6 separate regions of the Homo sapiens genome follow, and all the other regions are linked to region 1. Evidence: promoter capture Hi-C in 16 types of primary human blood cells and fetal thymus (Javierre and others, 2016). All regions are on one chromosome and are shown on one strand. The core of a region is centred on a gene start or on the middle of the fragment in contact, and the rest is flanking DNA. Distances in the headings are between cores, read along the strand shown.

Evidence for each region. Contacts are between HindIII fragments. The CHiCAGO score rates a contact against its expected background, and 5 or more counts as called.
Region 2: a fragment that was not itself captured here is called in contact with the fragment with the promoter of HOXB5 in region 1 in 14 of 17 cell types (non-activated CD4 T cells, activated CD4 T cells, fetal thymus and 11 more); the score reaches 14.9 in non-activated CD4 T cells.
Region 3: a fragment that was not itself captured here is called in contact with the fragment with the promoter of HOXB5 in region 1 in 11 of 17 cell types (total B cells, M1 macrophages, M2 macrophages and 8 more); the score reaches 8.2 in total B cells.
Region 4: a contact is called between a fragment that was not itself captured here and the fragment with the promoter of HOXB5 in region 1, in 4 of 17 cell types (erythroblasts, endothelial precursors, total CD8 T cells and 1 more). The highest score is 6.9, in erythroblasts.
Region 5: a fragment that was not itself captured here is called in contact with the fragment with the promoter of HOXB5 in region 1 in 6 of 17 cell types (total CD8 T cells, total CD4 T cells, megakaryocytes and 3 more); the score reaches 7.3 in total CD8 T cells.
Region 6: a contact is called between a fragment that was not itself captured here and the fragment with the promoter of HOXB5 in region 1, in 14 of 17 cell types (megakaryocytes, erythroblasts, endothelial precursors and 11 more). The highest score is 14.4, in megakaryocytes.

What each region holds. Positions count from the first base shown.
Region 1 is chr17:48,592,529-48,596,042 of GRCh38, reverse strand. HOXB5 (homeobox B5) reads left to right here and starts at 2,264. Exons shown (of 2, transcript NM_002147.4): 1 at 2,264-2,922. The coding sequence starts at 2,361. All of the region lies in intron 1 of HOXB-AS3 (HOXB cluster antisense RNA 3), which reads right to left. HOXB6 (homeobox B6) reads left to right here. Exons shown (of 4, transcript NM_018952.5): 4 at 1-292. RefSeq lists enhancers at 1-278, 1,321-1,826, 2,056-2,125, 1,827-2,334 and a silencer at 2,591-2,640. The HindIII fragment of the contact is 5,828 bases long and covers 1-2,908 here.
Region 2 is chr17:48,315,893-48,319,205 of GRCh38, reverse strand. The region is part of intron 4 of SKAP1 (src kinase associated phosphoprotein 1); the gene reads left to right. Among named protein-coding and RNA genes, the nearest start is that of SKAP1-AS2, 23 kb to the right of the region's middle. The HindIII fragment of the contact is 4,284 bases long and covers 1-3,313 here.
Region 3 is chr17:48,298,919-48,302,204 of GRCh38, reverse strand. The region is part of intron 4 of SKAP1 (src kinase associated phosphoprotein 1); the gene reads left to right. The region is part of intron 1 of SKAP1-AS2 (SKAP1 antisense RNA 2); the gene reads right to left. Among named protein-coding and RNA genes, the nearest start is that of SKAP1-AS2, 6.2 kb to the right of the region's middle. RefSeq lists an enhancer at 2,020-2,109. The HindIII fragment of the contact is 9,512 bases long and covers 1-3,286 here.
Region 4 is chr17:48,241,804-48,244,974 of GRCh38, reverse strand. The region is part of intron 4 of SKAP1 (src kinase associated phosphoprotein 1); the gene reads left to right. Among named protein-coding and RNA genes, the nearest start is that of SKAP1-AS2, 51 kb to the left of the region's middle. The HindIII fragment of the contact is 2,422 bases long and covers 435-2,856 here.
Region 5 is chr17:48,279,708-48,283,015 of GRCh38, reverse strand. All of the region lies in intron 4 of SKAP1 (src kinase associated phosphoprotein 1), which reads left to right. Among named protein-coding and RNA genes, the nearest start is that of SKAP1-AS2, 13 kb to the left of the region's middle. The HindIII fragment of the contact is 3,099 bases long and covers 1-2,939 here.
Region 6 is chr17:48,258,100-48,261,322 of GRCh38, reverse strand. All of the region lies in intron 4 of SKAP1 (src kinase associated phosphoprotein 1), which reads left to right. Among named protein-coding and RNA genes, the nearest start is that of SKAP1-AS2, 35 kb to the left of the region's middle. The HindIII fragment of the contact is 743 bases long and covers 1,376-2,118 here.

The sequences.
Region 1 (3,514 bases), core at 1,015-3,514:
TGGTAGATTCGCTGTCCCCTCAGCGGGGGCCTTGAAGACTCCCTGATCCCAGACCTGTCGTCTCTCCCACCCCCTCCCCAAAGCCACTGGAAGGAGCACATACTACCTAGAAGTAAGAAGAGGAGCCTCAGAAGAAAACAAAGTTCTATTTTATTAATTTTCTATGTGTTGTGTTTGTAGTCTTGTCTTAGCTCTGGACGTGAAATACTTCGATGATGATGATGATGATGATGATGATAATAATAATAATAATAACAACAACAACAACAATAATAAAGATGTGAAAACTCGACGCTCGGTCACCTCCAATCCTCCCCTGCCATTTTTTCCTCTCTCCTCAACCCCCAGCCTCTCCATCTTTCCTGAGCCAGAATTCTTCAGCAAAGGCGAGAGCCCTGGCCCGCCGAAGCGAGCCCTGTTCGACTGGGAAGTTACAGCTGAGATAAAGGCTGGAGCGATCAGTCCTGCCCAGGCCCCAGCGCTGCGTTTCCCTGGTGCTGAGGCTCACAGCCGCTTCTCCCCGTGCAGACTTGGGGGATGGAGAGGTGCTGTGTCCCTCTCATTCTCTAGCCTTTCCTCGTGTATACACAGCACTAAGGGAGCCACTGAGGCCCCTAAAGCTCTCTGGCGGAGACGGAGCCATAGTCTGGGGGCCTCTGCAGCGCTTTTCTGTCCTCACCTTCGCAGCGACCCCTGGTCTTTGGCCCGTCCACATGGCCAGGTTTTTTCGCCAGCCTTGGCCCTCCGCTCCTGGCCTGTGGCTCTGGAGACTGAAAAATGGGGCCACTGGGTATCTCTCACCCTGCAGCTGAAGGCTCCAGGTGCCCCTTCCCACCTCAAGTAGCAGATCAGCCTCAAGTAGGAGATCAGCCTCAAGTAGGGGAATGTAAAGCCACCAGCCAGGCACAGGCCGAAGGCCACAACTTTCCCTTGCTCCTTGGAGACCCCAGGGCAGGAGGCCAGGTGATGGGGCTTTTAGTGTCATCCTCTCAACCCAGAATGGCTCATTCTCTCTCTGCTTGCACCGGCACCCAGAAGGCAAGCTGCGGTCACTGTTTTCCTTTATTCCTCCGCCCTCTCGCTTCCTTTCTTATTTTTAAAGAAAATAGTCCCCTCCTAATAGGAGACCAGCTGCGGCGGTCTCTGGCCGCCCAGCGTGCTCAGCAAAGCATGCGGGTCCTTGGAACCCCTTTTCCGGGAAGGCGGCTGCCACCAGGCAAATTCTCAAACTGCCTAGCTGCGAGTGAGGGACCTGTAGTGGGGCCTCCGAATGCAATAGCCGAGGAGGAGGGGAAGGGATCCCGCTTTACAAACTCTCAGACACATGTTACTACTCAAACTAAGCAGCAGACGCGGTGGCCGCTGCAGTCTTTTCGGCAACTAGGCCGCTTAGCCCCAGCTGTGCTCGGTTTCTGGGGTCCCTGTCCTGCTCTGTCACTCCCCACGCCTGGGCTAAGGACCACCAAGGAGGTCCGGAAGGGGATTTCGAACTTCCAAGTGGCCCAGGAGAAGTGAACGCTTCTCCTTCTTTTTCAAGCCTCCCGCCCAGCCCTGCCGGCTCGGCCTGGGCGCTGTGGACCGGTAACAGCAGTTCCACCAGGATGCAGGCCGGACTAAGCTCCTGGGGAAAACCCGTTGCAATAATTGTTTTTCACACACAACTTCCAACCCTTCCCCCATTTCCGCCTCCAATTCGGAGACTTGCAAAGCCCAAGAAAGGGAAAAGCAACTCTATCTTTGATCTTCTCATCCAAAGTTAAAATAATAACGACAATGATGATGTAGGGAGAAAGAACCAAATAGAGAGGCTAACCCCACCCACAAGAAAGTGGGTAAAAAGCCCAACCCCTGCTCTAAAAGGCTCAACCCTGTGGCTGAGCCTTGGCCGGGTTTCTTTCTCTCCCGGCGACTGCAGGGAGCCTGCAGGGAGCCAGCAGGGAGGCAGCCGCCCGCCGCCATGGCGGTCTCACGCCCGCGCTCCCGTCGGTCGCCGGGAGGTGGCGCGCTCTGCTCAGAGGCCAAAGCCAACCTTCTCTCTGTTTCTCCCCCTTCTCCTTTTTTCCCCCTCTCTCGGAGGCTCGCATTGAATCGGCCCTAACGATTCTCGGATCGTCATTATTTGTAACCATAGAGCATGAATTACCTCTTGAGGTCATCAGCGAGAATTTACGACTGGTCAACAAAAGCACGTGATTCCCTAACGCCCCCCACCCCCCTTCCAACCCCCCCCCCATATTTGGCCGCATACATAGCAAAACGAAGTACAGTGCATCGCTATAATTCATTAATACATCATAAATCGTGAAGCACAGGGTTATAACGACCACGATCCACAAATCAAGCCCTCCAAAATCACCCAAATGAGCTCGTACTTTGTAAACTCCTTCTCGGGGCGTTATCCAAATGGCCCGGACTATCAGTTGCTAAATTATGGCAGTGGCAGCTCTCTGAGCGGCTCTTACAGGGATCCCGCTGCCATGCACACCGGCTCTTACGGCTACAATTACAATGGGATGGACCTCAGCGTCAACCGCTCCTCGGCCTCCTCCAGCCACTTTGGGGCGGTGGGCGAGAGCTCGCGCGCCTTCCCCGCGCCCGCCCAGGAGCCCCGCTTCAGGCAAGCGGCTTCGAGCTGCTCCCTGTCCTCGCCCGAGTCCCTGCCCTGCACCAACGGCGACAGCCACGGCGCCAAGCCCTCTGCTTCGTCCCCCTCCGACCAGGCGACCTCAGCCAGCTCCAGCGCCAATTTCACCGAAATAGACGAGGCCAGCGCGTCCTCGGAGCCTGAGGAAGCGGCAAGCCAGCTAAGCAGCCCCAGCCTAGCTCGGGCGCAGCCAGAGCCCATGGCCACCTCCACAGCCGCGCCCGAGGGGCAGACTCCGCAAATATTCCCCTGGATGAGGAAGCTTCACATCAGCCATGGTAATTCTCTCTCTCTTTTTTGTCTTCTCGGCTTTCCTTCTCTGCGTTTTGGGGTGGGATCGGGGGGACAAGGAGAGCTTGGCTTTACCCTAAATATAGATTCATTTTTCTAAGGGGGAGAAGTATCTAAGAGGGGCCTCATAGCTTCGTAGACAGAGCCAAAAAGGGTCTCTCTGTTAAGAGGGGGGTATTTTTAATAATTTGTTTCCAGCTTCGGCTTAGGTTTTTATTAGCGCAGCTGAACCAGCTTTAGGATAAAGGATGGGGTTCATATAATGTGGGGAAGGGTCCTGCTTACCCCTGAAATTTTGAGACTGTCGCTAGCAAAGAAGGGGTGAACAGTAAAAGGAGCTTTCCGGGGCAAAAGTGCAACCGCTCTCCTCCCTCCCGGGGCGAGCGGCCGCCTGAGCCCAGCCAAGGGTGAGGCACTAGGAGCGAGCAAGAGACAAAGCCGGGCGCACTGGCTGCCTGCAGAAGTGGGGGATGCAGTAGAAAGGGGTGCAGAAATCGAGCTTGAATGTGGGCATCTGGAGTAGAGAGGATTGGAGCTGTGGTGAGCTGGGTGCCGGGACGCCTGGGTCCTGCTCCCCCG
Region 2 (3,313 bases), core at 179-2,678, 280 kb after region 1:
TGGCTGAAGTGCTTCTGCAATGTACCTTTAAATCTGTAGGGGACTAGAAACAACTGAGATCCAGCTCCAGTTTCATACTCCTGATCAATTCCTTTTGCCATTCCAGTCTATTTCTTCTGTTTTGTTCACTCTCTCAGAAAACCATCCTCATAAAGCCCAAAACCTCATGTATTCAAAAGTTATTCTTACTGTTATGTGTACTTCTTTAAAGGTTCATTTCTCCTTTTTGTTTCCACTTCAAGAAGGTTATTTACATTAAGTTGGGAATTCTCGAGCCTTTGAATAAACTGAAGCTAATAATAGAAATATTAATTTTTAAGAAAGCAAATATTGTTTTTCCCTGAAGCAAGGTCTTGCTCTGTCTTGCCCAGGCTAAACAGTGGTGCAATCATGACTCACTGCAGCCTCAACCTCCCATGCTCCAAGCGATCCTCCCACCTCAGCCTCCAGACTAGCTGGGACTATAGGCACATGCCATGCCTGGCTAATTTTTAATTTTTTTTGTAGAAATGAAGTCTCACTATGTTGCCCAGGCTGGTCTTGAACTCCTGGCCTCAAGCAGTCTTCCTGCCGTGGCCTCCCAAAGTGCTGGAATTACAGATGTGAGCCACCATGCCCAGTCACAGAAAGCAAAGATTTTTAAAAGGACAGTTACAAATACAAATACAACCATTTGTATTATCCCTACATTATTCCAAACACATGAGAGCCTAATTGTGACGGTGATGACAGCAAATTGTGTAAGTAGCTTAGTGTGTCAGAAAAGCCAAGTGAATGAAAATATCAGTCTTGATGTAATTATAAGTGGGACCTCTTAAGTGGGCCACCCAGCGTGAAATCAAAGTGAGCCAGCCTCCTGCTTTGGGTATAAGATAATTGCCCTCTGAGGTCAAAAAGAAATGATGTTCTTGATATAGTATTGCACCATTAGGTGTATTATTGAATTTGGGTTGGTGAGAGTAGAGCTTTTCTCTGAAACATCTGTTTGCTGTCAGGGCAGCATGGCAAAAGGGATGGACCAGTGGTCTGTTTCAACATGGCAATTCTTGCAAAAGAATGTAGAAATATGAATGTCTTCCTAGGGGCTTATGGGCTTATGAATTATGGTGCTTTACATGAAATCTAAAAATCAGTGGTATTGTTCATGTGTCATAATGAAAGTTTATTTGCGCTTTTCTGGTGTCATTAAGTCTTTTTACAGTATTACACTTTCTAAATCTTTTCATTTTATTGATACTTCTGTTTTGCATTATTTTTCTCTCATACCTGTTGATTGCATTTTTTTCTTGATTTAACTCCATTTTATTTTATTCTTGAAGTACTTCAGTTTCTACCTCTACCCTTTGATTGCTTCTCTGTTTTTGCTGATTTTTGTATGATGCCTTCTAACTTAATGTCTCATGAGAGTTTAATATTTGTTCTAGTTTCAGCCATTGATAAGCATAAAACACATATCCATCCTGAAAAACTCAACTAGATTCTTATTTGAATTATTTCAGACCTCGAAGTGACCTGAAGTTACTTCAGTTCCTTTTGTTTACAGATAAAGATACTAAGATGTAGAAATGTTAAGCAACTTGCCTATTATCATTTGTTTTCAAGTTTTATTTAACTTTTGGTACATGAAAATTATTCATATCCAAGTATATTTATTTCAAAAGGAAATTTTTATGAACATTTTATATGACCAGCTTACTGGTCTAAGTATAGAATTATGCTTTGCTAGTCCAAACCTTTGAGCACTTTCATTTCTTCATCTTTAAAATTGTTCCTATTACATAACTTGATTTCTTAATTTAATTCAATTTTTAAAACGTTTAATGCCATGTTTGTGATAGTTCTACTTCTGTTTGGGAATTGACCCCTAAAAAAGAAATGAAGGTCAACTGATCATCATTTAAGTTTAGTCTTTATTTTATGTTCGTCTTTTTTATATCAACATTGAGATACTTTTTTTCCTCAATTATCATACAAGGGATTGGTGATTTTTCATAGGTTTATTTCCATTGGGAGTCCCTTCTCTTCATTCAGCCTTGTCAACAGATGAATGCCCATGAACATCCGTCTGAGCATAGAGTCAAGGATCATCATTCAGTATGGCTCGGAGAGGCTGGCACTTTTCGCTCCTGCATGAGCATCTGGGCCTCAGATTGTCATGGCCAGGATGTGACTGTCAGCCCTGCCCATGATCCAGGGGCTGGATACCTGCCACATGTTGGATGTGATAAGGGAGAAGATGAAGGATCAGATTGGGATTTTTTTCCACAAAGGCTACTAGGGGAGATAAGATCTGTATGAAATAAGAATGGTATAAAAGAAATAGTGATAGATACCATAAGGCAGATATGGTTTCAGTGTTATGCAAGTTGGGGAAAGAGAGAGCTGATTTTTAGCAGTCTGATCAATAGCTCATCTTAGCGTGGTGGTCTCTGTCATGTGAACATTCTTTTGAGGTTCATATTCAAATGAACATTAGGTGGAATGTCTGCCAATTGCTTTGACTATTCTTCATCTATTCATTTATCATTGAGGACCTACTATGTGCACGACCTTAGACTAGTACTGGGGACACAGAGACGAAGTTGACAAAACCCTTAGCCACATAGAGCTCATATTTTACTGGGGCCGATATGTTATATAATGTCAAGCCATGGTAAATGGTCTGAAACTAAACACAACAAAAAAGACTGAAAGGCAGAGAGAGAATGACTAAAAAGGGTGACAGTAGATCTCTTTGAGAACAGGGTGATCAGAGGAGGCCTCTGAGCAGAAAACTGAATGAAATGAGAGATCAAGCCATGGGTTGATCTAAGGGACGAGCATTCCAGACACAGGGAATAGCAGATGCAAAGGCTCTGAGGTAGAACCCATCTTTGAGTGTCTTCAGGGAATAATCAAGAAACTTATGTGGCTAGAGCCACACCTGTGTGGCTAGAGTGAGACAGAGTGTTAGGAAATGAGATTGAAGAGACAGAAAGGACTAAGTCACTGAAGCCATAGTAAGATATTTGGATTTTATTTTGCATATCATGGGAAGCAACTAGTGAGTTTTAAGCAACAGACTGGCATAATATAACTTACATTTCTAAAAGAATTCTCTAACTATTCTTTGTAGAATTGATTTTAAGGGGGATAGGAGTGGAAGAGGGGAGAGACTAGGGTGAGGTATACTGGATGATCCATAGGCGATGGGAGGAAAATATTAGCATATATGTATATACAGGTTGAGTATCCCTTATCCCAAATGCTTGGGACCAGATGGGTTTTGGATTTCAGATTTTGGAATATTTCCATATACCTAAAGAAATATCTT
Region 3 (3,286 bases), core at 645-3,144, 290 kb after region 1:
GAAAATGCTCAAGAAATATAGGCTATCAAATAATATAAAAAGTGGTTTATGTTTGGGTCAGTGGGAGACTCACTTGATAAGTTTGGCTAATTAGCATGTTTTGAATTCATTTTTAAGTTGTTGATCACTACCATTGATCATTATGATACGCTATTTTACGTTGGATTATTTATTGTTGGTTTCCTATAATCTCAACAGAAAATCAAAATAACATAGTCTTCATTATATTTTTTGATAAATGATAATTTTTTAAAAATTTTGTTGTGTACAACTGAGGATGAGATATTTCCTATTTCTGTAAGCTCATTAAAGAAAGCTATGTGCCCTGATGCCAGTTGTAGCACTGAGACTACTGCAAGGTTCCTAACATGGTGGAAGAAAATCAGGAGCCAGGGGACCATAAGGAAGGTCTAAGAAATGTAGATTCAGACTGGGTGCGGTAGCTCACGCCTGTAATCCCAGCACTTTGGGAGGCCAAGGTGGGCGGATCAGCTGAGGTCAGGAGTTCAAGACCACCCTGGCCAATGTGGTGAAACCCCATGTCTATTAAAACTGCAAAAATTAGCTGGGCATGGTGGTGGGTGCCTGTAATCCCAGCTACTTGGGAGGCTGAAGTAGAAGAATTGCTGGGTTCAAGCAATTCTTGAACCCAGGAGACGGAGGTTGCAGTGAGCCGAGATCACGCCACTGCACTCCAGCCTGGGTGACAGAGCGAGACTCCATCTCAAAAAAGAAAGAAAGAAAGAAATCTAGATTCAATTCAAATACTCATGGAGTCTCTACCATGTGCAATGCATAATGCTAGGTGCTGAAGGAATATAAAGATAGGTAATTGGGAATCTCCCTGAAAATTTATAATTTGTTGGATATTGGGCTGATGGGAAGGGTTGGTGGGAATAGAGAGGAAACAAAACAAGAAGATCTTTGCTCATCTTCCAAGGAGCAGTTTCAGTAGTCTACTAAAAACAAGCCTAGTTATTAGTGATCTTAGAGTGAGTGAGTACTCAGAAACTAGAGGCTGTGGGTATATGTTACCTAAAAAAAGTTGTTTGGTGAAAAGAATGAAAGGGATAAATGGTAGGAGGAGAGAGGAGCTTTTTGGTTATTTTGTTTTAGTTTTAGGAGAGGGGAGATCTGAGCTGATTTTCCAGCATATGAGAAAGAACCAGTCTAAAAGAGAAGATAATGGGTAGAATCAGGTCCTGGAAAGGTAGAAATGGGTCAGTCAATACTATACAAGAATCAGTCCTGGCTAACAGGCAGGGGACTCATTCCTTAGAGAAAGGAGTTAAAGGATAGAAGAGAATGAAGATACGGAGATATTTTTACTTGAAGGGAGGAGAAGGCAAAGCCATTTACTAAGAGTAAAAAGCCATGGAGCAGGGACTGGCCTAGAGCTTAGGGAGACTGGAAAGTGGAAGTTTAAGGCAGCCATTAAAGAGATGTGACAGGATTAAGAGAAAACACATTATTGTTAAGCAGTAATTAATATATACAGTGAGAACCATCTCAATCTATTCAACAAACATTAATCATTAAATAGAGAATTCATGGAGGAGCAAAATGCTAAAAGATTCTGATCCACTTCATTTTTAGGCTCACCCCTCATCACTCTCTCTTGGTATAATATGTGGTTAATAAATATAATATAGCCTCCAGACCATGGAAAATCACATGCAATCTCACACTGAGCTGTCTATCCCTTTGACACCAGGACCCAGTCCTGAAGAAGTATCACATTCACAGAAGCACAACAAAAGTAGGAATTTCTGTCCTCAAAAATACCTGTAGCCCATTTTACAAGGCAACTTCTCCTCCTTTTTCAAAATCCCCAGAACTCCCTGGAGCCTCTCACTCTCCTGTCCCAGAACTCTCTCACAGTCCCATGCCATTCTGCCCTGTCTCTCTTAATCCTTGAAGATATGGGGTGGAGACTGCTTCTTTGCTCCCTGTCTTCTACTGTCAACCTAAGTATCTTATTCTCCACATTCTCCCCATGCTGCATCACAAGGCCAAAACACTTGACTGAGAATGGCAGAGCCCTCCTTGGATGATGGTGAGCCTGGGAAGGACCTGAACTAGTGAAGCCAGAAACTCTTGAGCACACAGGGGAAATAATAAGCTAGGAACACTCATAGTTAAAAACAGTTTTCTCATAACACTGCAGCTTCATGACCTACACTTATTTTGAAGAGGATTTGAAACCATGACCTGAAATACTGAGCCTACCTTTCATCTTACCTCCTACATGTGAAACTCATGCCCCAAACCCCAGCCTCACAGGATTATTCATCATCATTCCGCAAACCCAGCCCTGTGCCTTCCACCTGGAGTGCCTTTCCCATCCTCCCATCCACCCACTCATCCTTCCAGGCCATGCTCAAACTCCCTCTTCTCTAGCTGGCTTCCTAGTTGCCCCAGGTTGGACTCAACCCCTTCCTGTCTTGCATTTTACTTGATCAGTTATCATAGCTGTTGCCTACCACCATTTACCTGCATTGTATTACATACACTGGCATCTCCAAAGGATTGTGGGCTGTCAGCACATATTAGACATTCAATAAATGTTTGTCAGATTGATCCCCTAAAATGTGATTGTATGATCCAGATTTTCAAATCACACACACACACACATACATATATATTCTGTCATATCCTAAAGAACTTTCAAAGAACCTTGAAATAATAGTAGTCTCCTGTTCTATACTGTGTCTTAATGTGCCACAGAGTGACAGCCTCCCCCTCTTCCCCCTTCAATGATATCTGGAGGTTTTCCTCCCTTAGACATCAGAAATACTGAAGGATGGAAAACACTATACCAGATAGATCCAAGATAAATGTTTACTTCCTTCAGTAGTCTAGCTTATGAGTATAAAGCCAAATGCTGGACAGTACATTGACACCACAAAGACAAAACGAAATAGACAGGAACTTTAGAAAAGGTAAAGGAGGCAGCCAATAAGGGCATGCTCCATTGTGTATGTTACAACTCAGGGAAGAGAAAATGGCAGCAAAACCAAATCTACATAAGAGTTTATATCCCTTTCACTACTGAAATATGGTTTATGCTGAAATGCCAACATTCTGTGATCACCCACATGAAATGAAAATGCTCATATTTATATGGTGCTTTTCGTCTAGAGAATCCCAAGGTGCTTTATAAATTATAAATACGAATGTTCCTTATGCAATGTCCCTGATATTCTCCATACACAAAATCCAGTTTCTGATGGTCAAAATTTCCCCCACGCCTGCCATACCACTGAATATTAAACATTTTTATCAG
Region 4 (3,171 bases), core at 396-2,895, 350 kb after region 1:
AGTTACTACTCCTAGAAATCTTCTGTTTTCATTTTCTACGATTATGGTCCAGGTTTTAGACTCAGGAACAAATGGCAAGCATCCATGCATCATTTGGAGGTTCTAGAAGAAAGAATGAAAGCCCATGACACTATTCAGCTCTTTTATTTTGTTTGGATGTAAATATAAGTTTTAACTAATTATTTGACTCATTTTCCCTGTGAACGCATCTTCTTTTAAGTGGATCTCCATGCTTTTTGCTAGGCAGTTTGGTCATTTCTTAGTCTGGCCAAACCCTTTCTTTGAGGTTTCCAAGCTTCCTTTGGAATATTATAACTGTGTATCATCAGCAGAATTTTCAGTTTTCTTTCCCCCAACTATTTGTTAATGTTTGCTGAAAGGAACCTTTAACAGGAAGTAAACTTGCTTGGCATGGCCCAGCTGTGAGTGAAGCTTGAGTGAGAGGTATTTATGACCTGACAGGAAGATAAAGATAAAGATAAAGATGAAGCTGACTTGGTGGCTGTTAGCAAGGGGAGAAGGAAATGTTTATGACCCCATCTGCTGGCGTTTCAATAGGATAGAACTGCCTTTATGGCGTCAATCTCCCCTGTGACTTCCTTCCATTTGGGGAGTGTTATCTTATTTCAAGATGTTCCCACCGAACACACTGTTGTCCCCTTTGTTTAGGGGCAAAGGAGGAAGGAAGGACTTTGTTACTGGAATGTGGGGATGGGGCAGTATTTATGGTTATGACTCAAGCTGGAGAAAAGGCTTCATTGGAGTTGACTGTATAGTCCAGGAAAGCTGCCATGCATTCTGCTACTTCCTTAAACATTATCCACACTGAAAGCAGAACCACATTAGCTCTGGTCATTATCAGGCATTAAGGCTAACCATTTTCTAACATTATTATAAGTAGAATTAGTGTAGCTTGATTTCATTGCACACTGTGGGGAAAATAATTTTATTCTCTTAGTTCCTTGTTTCTTGTCTTTTATTTAACATCTCTTCTTTTTCTTCTCCTGAACTTTTTTCTTTCTTTTTCTTAGAGGAGGAGACATTTAAAACCAACAGGTGCCATATCTGCTTAGTTCAAAATCTATGTACATGTAACAAAAGCAGAATGAAATGATTCCTTTCTTAATGCTAGCCCAGGTTAAGAGTCTGCAGATAGGTTGATAGTCCTTTGTGAGGTAATACATTTTTAAAGTGCCAAAAATGTAGGAATATTTTTAGAATACAATAGCTTATGCATCACTGAAGCCTGTTTTATATATATATTAATAGCATTCATTGTACTGCAAAACAAGTACTTATTCCTCGGTTTTATTTGCGCTTCCTCCAGGCCCATTAGTACAGATTAAATTTTTTATATTGATGCTCAAACAATCAGCACAATATATGTAAATCAGGGACTTTAAGTTCTTTGGCACTATTCGTATGGATATATGTTACCATGTTCAACATGGCCTTTTTTTCCCCTTTGCAAAAACAGGATTTTGTTCCTTTTTAGTGTGAAGATCCTATTTCCAAAAGATGAACTGTTTGACAAATTACACATGCAAAAAGCTCAAAACCACAAAGAGAACAACTTTCTTATTGCCATTGGGTTTGTCTGATTTATAGAACAAAGGGAAGAAGTTTTGTTTTGGGGGTAAAATACCCAATCATGGGCTTATTATATCTCTTTAAAGTCCTATTTTTATTTTTACTAGGGGAAGTCAGGGAATTTGAAAGGGCAGGGAGGGAGATGGCTTGCTCAAGCATTTTTCACCAGAGAATTCCACAGTAATATTTGTTTTAAATGGGAGAGTCCTGTAGTTAAGTTGAGAAATTAGTTATAATGTTTGTATCTGATTACCTAAAGACTGGAAGGTAATAGTGTGTGACGAGTTACATTTTACATCACAGTCCAGGTATAGTCAATTTGCAAAATGGAAATATTGTGGTGGCAATGTTCCTTCGAAGAGTTAGAGCTATCACAGAAATAAAACTTCATATAAGCATTTATTGTTATAATGCCAAGAGTTGATTCTTGATTTTTACAGAACTTTCTCCAAAAAATATTCTACCATTCCTTTTACAGTACAGGCTCAAGTCTTGGCATATTCAATAGACTAGCCAATCCAATTCTAACCGTTTTTATTCAGTGTGGTTCCTGAGAATAATTTGATAGACCTACTAGGGGAGATCCTATCACACTTACAGTATTCTAAGACCTTCTTTTGCACTACAGGTTATCAAATGGCCTTCCTATTAACAAAGGTTCAAACCACACCATCAAATGGTTCAAACCACATAACCCCTTGTCTTAGGAGTTAAGCTAGCTTCCTAACCCTTCCTTGCAGTGGTTAACTCCACTGAGGAGCTTTCTATCAGCAATAATAGCTTCAAGGTGGGAAATAAAAAATGGAGAGTGTTTAAATTGTTAATGGGTTTCATGTTCTTGTCACTGTTGAGGGTTTGTTCCCTTTTATAAACTCATAGTTTTTGGTTGACATTGCTTTTATGCGAGCCATCAGCCAGTTGGTGATGGTGTTGCTGTGTTAGACCATTACTGCCGGATTGTATTTGCAGTAAAGAAGGAGAATGGAGGCTGTAAATCTGTAACTGGAGATTTAGGGCTCTGTTACTCTGCAGTTTAGGCCCATGTGCTGGGGAGTCCATTCTCCTCCGGCAGAATTATACCCTGAAAACATGCCTTTCTAGGCACACTGATCAACGACGTTCATTCCCTGGGCTACCAAGGCACTTAATACAGCTAATTCAGTTAAAGAAGCCCGAGGGGTGAGGTGGATGAGCCTCTTTCCCTGCTGGAAGCCAGATGCCAGGCAGGTTAGTGATATTGCTTTATCCCTTCCCCCAGGTAAAGCTTCCAGGAGAAGCAGTTACTGCAAACGCAGAGAAAAATAATAAGAAAATGCTTCTAGTGTTGTTGGACTCAGTTCTCCTTCAAGCAGGAAATGCTGTCTTAACTCAACCTCATTAACCCCTTTGATACTAAGCCCATTATCAGGAATATTCAGGAAGCACATTCTTTCAGAATTCAGGATGTGTCAGGAGCCTTGATATCTTGACATCATTGTACAAAACTACCAGCAAAGAATGGAAAGTAAGAGAATAAGTGCTTTTGGGACAGGTAACTAAAAATGGAAAAAACTCCCAGTTTGGAAGATTATATCTGTTACT
Region 5 (3,308 bases), core at 141-2,640, 310 kb after region 1:
TAACTAGAAAATGCACTAGTTTGTGACTATTTTAGAGATCTCAAAGTACTTGCTTTTTTTAGCCAAACTGAGAAAATAATTACATGGAATTACATAATTGCTAAGAGTGGATGGCATTTTGTAGTTATTGTTCCCTCAGATGGGTGGGTTTGCATTTATCAGAGGAGCACAAAAATGTGCAATTTTCCTTACCAAAAAAAAAGGGCAGTTTCTTTTTTTCTTTTCTTTCTTTTTTTTTTGAGACCAGATCTTGCTCTGTCACTGAGGCAGCAGCAGTGCAGCGAGACGACCTTGGCTCACTGCAACCTTGACCTCCTAGGCTCAAGCAATCCTCTCACCTCAGCCTACTAAGTAGCTGAGACTACAGGCGTACACCACAATGCTTGGCTGACTTTTTACTTTTTCGTAGAGCTGAGGTCCCACTATGTTGCCCAGGCTGGTCTTGAACTCTTGGGCTCAAGCAATCCTCCTGCCTTGGCCTCCCAAAGTGCTGAGATTACAGGCATGAGTCACCTTGCCCAGCCAAAAGCAGTTTCTTAGTTTTGATAGTTATACTGTGGTTATGCAATATGTTAGCTTTGAGGGAACAGGGTGAAGGATAGATGAGAACTCTGTACTATTTTTGCAACTTTTCTGAAAACTTAAAATTATTTCAAAGTACAAAGTTAAAAAAAATAAGGCATTAGTTTGGGTAGAGGTGAGGAATGAATGGAGGAAAATAGAGGAAACAGAATTGGCCATGAGTTGATAATTGTTGAAGCTGGATGATAGCTACAGGAGGTTCATTACATTATTTTCTATACATTTGTACATGTTTAAACTTTTTATAATTTCTTAATCTAATAAAATGAAACAGAAAGGCATAAAAGAAAGTATTAAGTGCAGTTCAACTTTGGGTAAACATAAGAATTTTCCAAATGATATTGTTAGCTGAGACAAACTTATATTATTTTGGGATTTCTGTTTTCTTTACCATTCTTATCGGTGCATGAAGAATCAAGTAAATGCTTGTGTGATTTTTTTAACTGTAGAATATGTACTCTTAGTTACACTTAGCTGTTGTTCTTCAGGTTTTCCTTATTGCTGCAGTACTAAAAATATATGCATTAGATAAACTAGGATTTTTAAAAAGTTGTCTTGCCTGTCCATAAACTAGTAAATATTAATATTTATTTTTTGTCTGTTTTTGTTTTATTGTTTTTCTAAACAATATGAGTATGAGGGCATGCCTAATGGCATATATTTTCTCATTGATTTTATAATAAACTTATACTGTTCCAAAGATAATAAATTATACTAGATCAACACTTATGGGTAAGAGAAGTTTTCAGTGCCATGTTAAAACTTAAGCCATGGATCACTAGATGGTGGCCACAGTGTTAATTTCTTATTTTCTAAACCTCTCCTTTTAAAGATACCTAAATTAGATTTTCCTTACAAGTAAATTCCCTTAATTTGTTTGGAAATATAAAGGTTTTTCTTTAAAGCACAATTTGAAAGCACGCTGCCTCTGCCTGCCAGCCTAAATGAGCAGCATTTGATGTGCGATCAGGCAGTCTCCACTTGGAGAGCATCACAGGCACTAGGAGCAGTGAGAAGAACCCCATCAGGGAGTGCCATGACAATGACAAAGAGCTTCATGGTTTCTTATTGGGCACCAGTAGACTGAAGTGCTTTAAAACTTGAGCTCTGGGCCAGGTGCAGTGACTCACGCCTGTAATTCTAGCACTTTGAGAGGCCGAGGTGGGTGGATCACGAGGTCAGGAGATCAAGACCATCCTGGCCAACATGGTGAAAACCCATCTCTACTAAAATACAAAAAATTAGCCGGGCATGGTGGCATGTGCCTGTAATCCCAGCTACTTGGGAGGCTGAGGCAGGGGTATCGCTTGAACTCAGGAGGCAGAGATTGCAGTGAGCCAAGATCACGCCACTGCACTCCAGCCTGGCAACAGAACAAGACTCCATCTCAAAAAATAAAAAATAAATAAAAATAAAAAAGTAAAAAAACCTGAGCTCTGGGTTTAGACTGCCTAAGTCTGAGTACAGGTTCTGCCTTGAGTGTTTATAACAGCTTTATTCACTGAAACTGAAAAGAACCCAAGTATCCATCAACTGGTGAGTAGATAAACAAATTGTGTTTCTATTCAGCAATAAAAAGGGATAAACTACTGATACACACAACTACATGGATGAATCTTAAAGGTTTTATGCTAATTAAAGAAAGCCAGACATAAAATATTAGATACTATATGATTTCATGTATTTGACATCCCTAAAAAGTCAAAGCTATAGACACAAAAATAGATCAATGATTGGCAAGGCCAGTGATAGAAAGAGTGGATTGACTACAAAGGGGCAAAAAGGAGCTTTTCAGAGTGATGGAAATATTCTATATCTTGATTTGGTAGTGGTTATACAACTACTATATATATATGTATATATTTGTCAAAATTCATTAAACTGTACATTTAAAAAGAATTGTGTTTTTTGTGTGTCATTTTTTGTTGTTGTTTTTTGTTTGTTTTTGAGACAGAGTCTCACTCTGTCACCCAGGCTGGAGTGCAGCCTGTCATCCAGGCTGGAGTGCAGATCTCGGCTCACTGCAACCTCTGCCTCCCAGGTTCAAGTGATTCTCCTGCCTCAGCCTCCCAAGTAGCTGGAATTACAGGCGCCCACCACCACAGCCAGCTGATTTTTGTATTTTTAGTAGAGACGGCGTTTCACCATGTTGTACCATGCTGGTCTCAAACTCCTGACCTCAGGTGAATCCTCCCACCTCTGCCTCCCAAAATGCTGAGATTCCAGGCATGAGCCATAGCGCCTGGCCAAGAATTGTATTTTATGTAAATTATATCTCAATAAAGTATTTAAAACCAAACATACAAAATATGTTTTCCAGAACTCTTTTTGATTTGTCTAGTTTCCATAAACAAGCTTATTATTATTGCTTTAGATCATTTTTCTTTCTAGAACCAAGCAATATATGAGTTCTTTCCATGAGAAATAAGTATATTTTCTTCTCTGTCTGCTCTCTTCTGATAAAACTGTATGACAACAGGGCCCCAGGGAATGAAGATAGCAAAGGGACCTTGGGTTAAATGCTGGCCTTAGGAGACAAGCTCTTAGAAGGAACTGTGAGCACAGGAAAGAAGGATTTAGGGAAAATGGAAGCTGGCCCAGGCTACGAAGAGAGAAAGACCCAAGAACAGAGTGTTGGTGGGCCATAGGAATGGAGGAGATGGATGAGATGACCCCGTTGGGGAAAGGGAAGCTAAGAGAGTGGAATGAAATATACTTCTTTAGGT
Region 6 (3,223 bases), core at 498-2,997, 330 kb after region 1:
GAGTGAGTCACAGGCATGTCACTCTTCTGTTGTTCACCAAAGCATAGATTCTTTACTGTCCACAGCATTAAAGCATGGCGTATTTTGAGAGATGGTTTTAAGTCATCCTTTCAACTAATTCAGATAAACATCCTTGCAGAGCATGGCATCAGAAATTTTCCAAAAATTGTCAAGGACTGACCCCTGCCCTCCTAGGACTTGCAGACTTAGGGGTCGTTCAGATCCAAACACAACTATAATAATTCTAATTCTAAAATGTGATAATTGCTATAATAGAAGTTTTTTTAAATACTGCAGGAGAGGGAGTGATTAAATTCACATCAGGGATTCCGAACAGCATTTTAGAGTATCTGGATTTTGAGGTGAATCTTAAAAGATGAACAGAAGAAGAATGTTCCAGGCAGGGGAACAGTAGTACTAAGAACGTGGCATTTGTTTTCACCAGGTTTCTTGCATCCCTTGACCACTTGGTTGCCTTTGTTGTTAAACTGTGTGTGTGTGGTTAACCAATTAAGGAAAGGAGAAAAGCTGATTCGAGATAGTCATGGTGTGAAAAAGCTTTGATCTGGACGTTTACCTTGATTTCTTTTCACGTGGTGATTCCGATATAAATAATGTCATTAACTTCCTTTTTTTCCATCTTACAACACATTTACCTGTTTCTTTCCATGTATATTGATACACACACACACCCCTCCAGTGTTTATTCTTGGGCATTTTCCAGTTTCTAATATGATGTCCACGAGTCAAATCAATTAAATTGAACCGATAATACAACTTAATGACCCTTCTTATCTTTGCAAGTAAACTTGAGAATGGAATGAATCTAAATGCCAACTCATTAACCTTGAAAGACAATTCAGGTGGTTTTATTCTAATGTTTCTAGTGTTTGTTTATAGTTGAGCACACTTTAAATATGTCTACATTGTTTAATAGCCTCTTGTACACAATTTTTTGATGGACTCAATTGATATTCTTCATTAAAGACCAGATCCTAATAAACTCATCTCCCTTACTCTTAAATTCACATTCAAACAGGAGATTTCTTAATGGCTTCTTAAAATGCTAAGTTACTAGTTTTAAATTTATGTATTTCATGCTGCTAGCCTCGGAGTTTCTTGTCCACATCAAATTCCTAATTATTTCTTTTAGATTTGTGGGAAACAATTGTCCAACACTTCTCTCTTTTCATTTTTTTCTAATTTTGTCATCCATGCTGCTCACTTTTCATGCTATGGTTGTCTTCATTAAGAGATTGGTGGGATTTTGGTCCCTAAAGACAAATAATTTATTAGCTCTTAATGGTGATCTGGAAGGTTACATTTCAGGAAATTATTTATTTTAGTATGTTTTTAACTTGTTTTTAAGGAAGCTTCCTCCTCCTTTTACATTTCCAACTGAGAAGGGCCATCCAGAAATGTCTCCACTGCCACCTACTTGCAGTTTGGAAATTTACATGCACCTGGCTTTTCAAATAAAGCTGACCTTTTTTCCTGCCAAGGCAAGATTACTGTCAAGAAAACTGTAGGTGGCATTGTGGATTCTCCTCATGTTTTTAAAGGCATGGGTTTTGTGAAGTTGCTAGAAAAACACCTACGTTATAGGATTTTTACTAACATTCGTAGCAACAGCTTTTTCTGTAAATGTATGTCTTCTTCTATGATAATTGTATTGCTGCAAATTATGTAGGTAACAGTCTAAGTGAAAATATCATTCCTAAATGCTTTATTCATATTTATATTCGAATTACATTGCTATAGTCATAATCCTTAATAATTTCTTATAAAGCACATTATATAATGCATTCATGATTACGCTATGGAAAGCTGTTACCTAACACATTGTAAAAGGCAGACATTTTAAAAAACAATGTATGTTCCTATTTAATACAGAGAGATGAGTTATCAGACACTGTGTGTATTTGTAATTTCATAAATAATAATAAGGTATGCATAAATGGCTCTTTAATACCCAATGTTATTATGTAGAGAAGAAAGTGAACTATTCTAATATAATAATAGATATGAGAATTTTGAATTATTTTTTCTTCTTATCGTAACAGTGACCACTCTTTGCCTAATGATTTCATTTTATTGCGAATCCTCTGCTTGAAAGCTTAAAGATTTGACATTGTTCTGCACTTTTAAAATATAGGTTATTCTGAAAATCCTAGCTTGAGTCATTTTTGCAGCATGTACTGTAGAGTCCCCCATTTTAAAAAATTACGGACATTCAAGCATCTGCCTAAAATTTTAATTGTTACCCAAACATCATCTACCTCATTTTTCTCAATTTTCATACAATATAACTAGACTCAATTTTAAGTATAGTTTGGAAAGTATTAATCATTCTGAATCTGATAAATTATTTGGATCACATTGTAGGTACAGGTACCTACATATGAAAACATGATTAGTGATGAGAAATATTTTATTCTTTCTCATGAATGCAGAGTTAGGAGTTCAGAGTACAGGCCTGGTCCTTCTCCAGAACCATTCAGTACTATCTAATTTCCCATCTATACAGTTTGTCCCTAAGTGACATTTTAAAAGCAGCTGTAACTTTATGGTTTTTTATGTTCAGTGACTGTAGAATGCTTGTCTGAAGTAAAACAAGTCTTTGCTGTGTGTTCCATAGCTGGTACACAAGCAGTATTATGTTTGTACTTTTAAACAACTTCTAATGTAATCTGATTTCATTTGTATGCTACACACCCTTTTTAAGATTTTTTAAAATCTCATCTAGAGAAACTGCAAGTCATTTAAGTTTCCTTAACGGCACCAGTAATGTATATAAATCTTGTTAACATGCAGTGCATTACAGAGTGGAGTGGCATTAAAACTCTTGTTGCACAGTCATGCTTTAAGGAAGGCTTCCAGATCCTGAGATAAACTGTGTGCTTGGTGAATCCACTTCATTTGAAAGTGACTAGAATATAATTTGTCTTATAAGGACAATCTTTTCACATAATATAGAAACCAGGTGAGTTCTTGTTAAGCATATGGAAATCTGCACACACATGAAATAAAGTTTTATATTTTGTATCTTCTCTGTTAAATGCAATAGAAGAACATTTTGGACTTTGTGGGAGACTTAATTTATGGATGTCATTCAGGTGAACAGAGATCTTTGAAATTTCAGTATCAAAAGCACCATCAGAGGACTGTCCTTTTGGGAATACTGACAATTTGCTACCTAAGAGCATCACTTTAACTGGCCTCG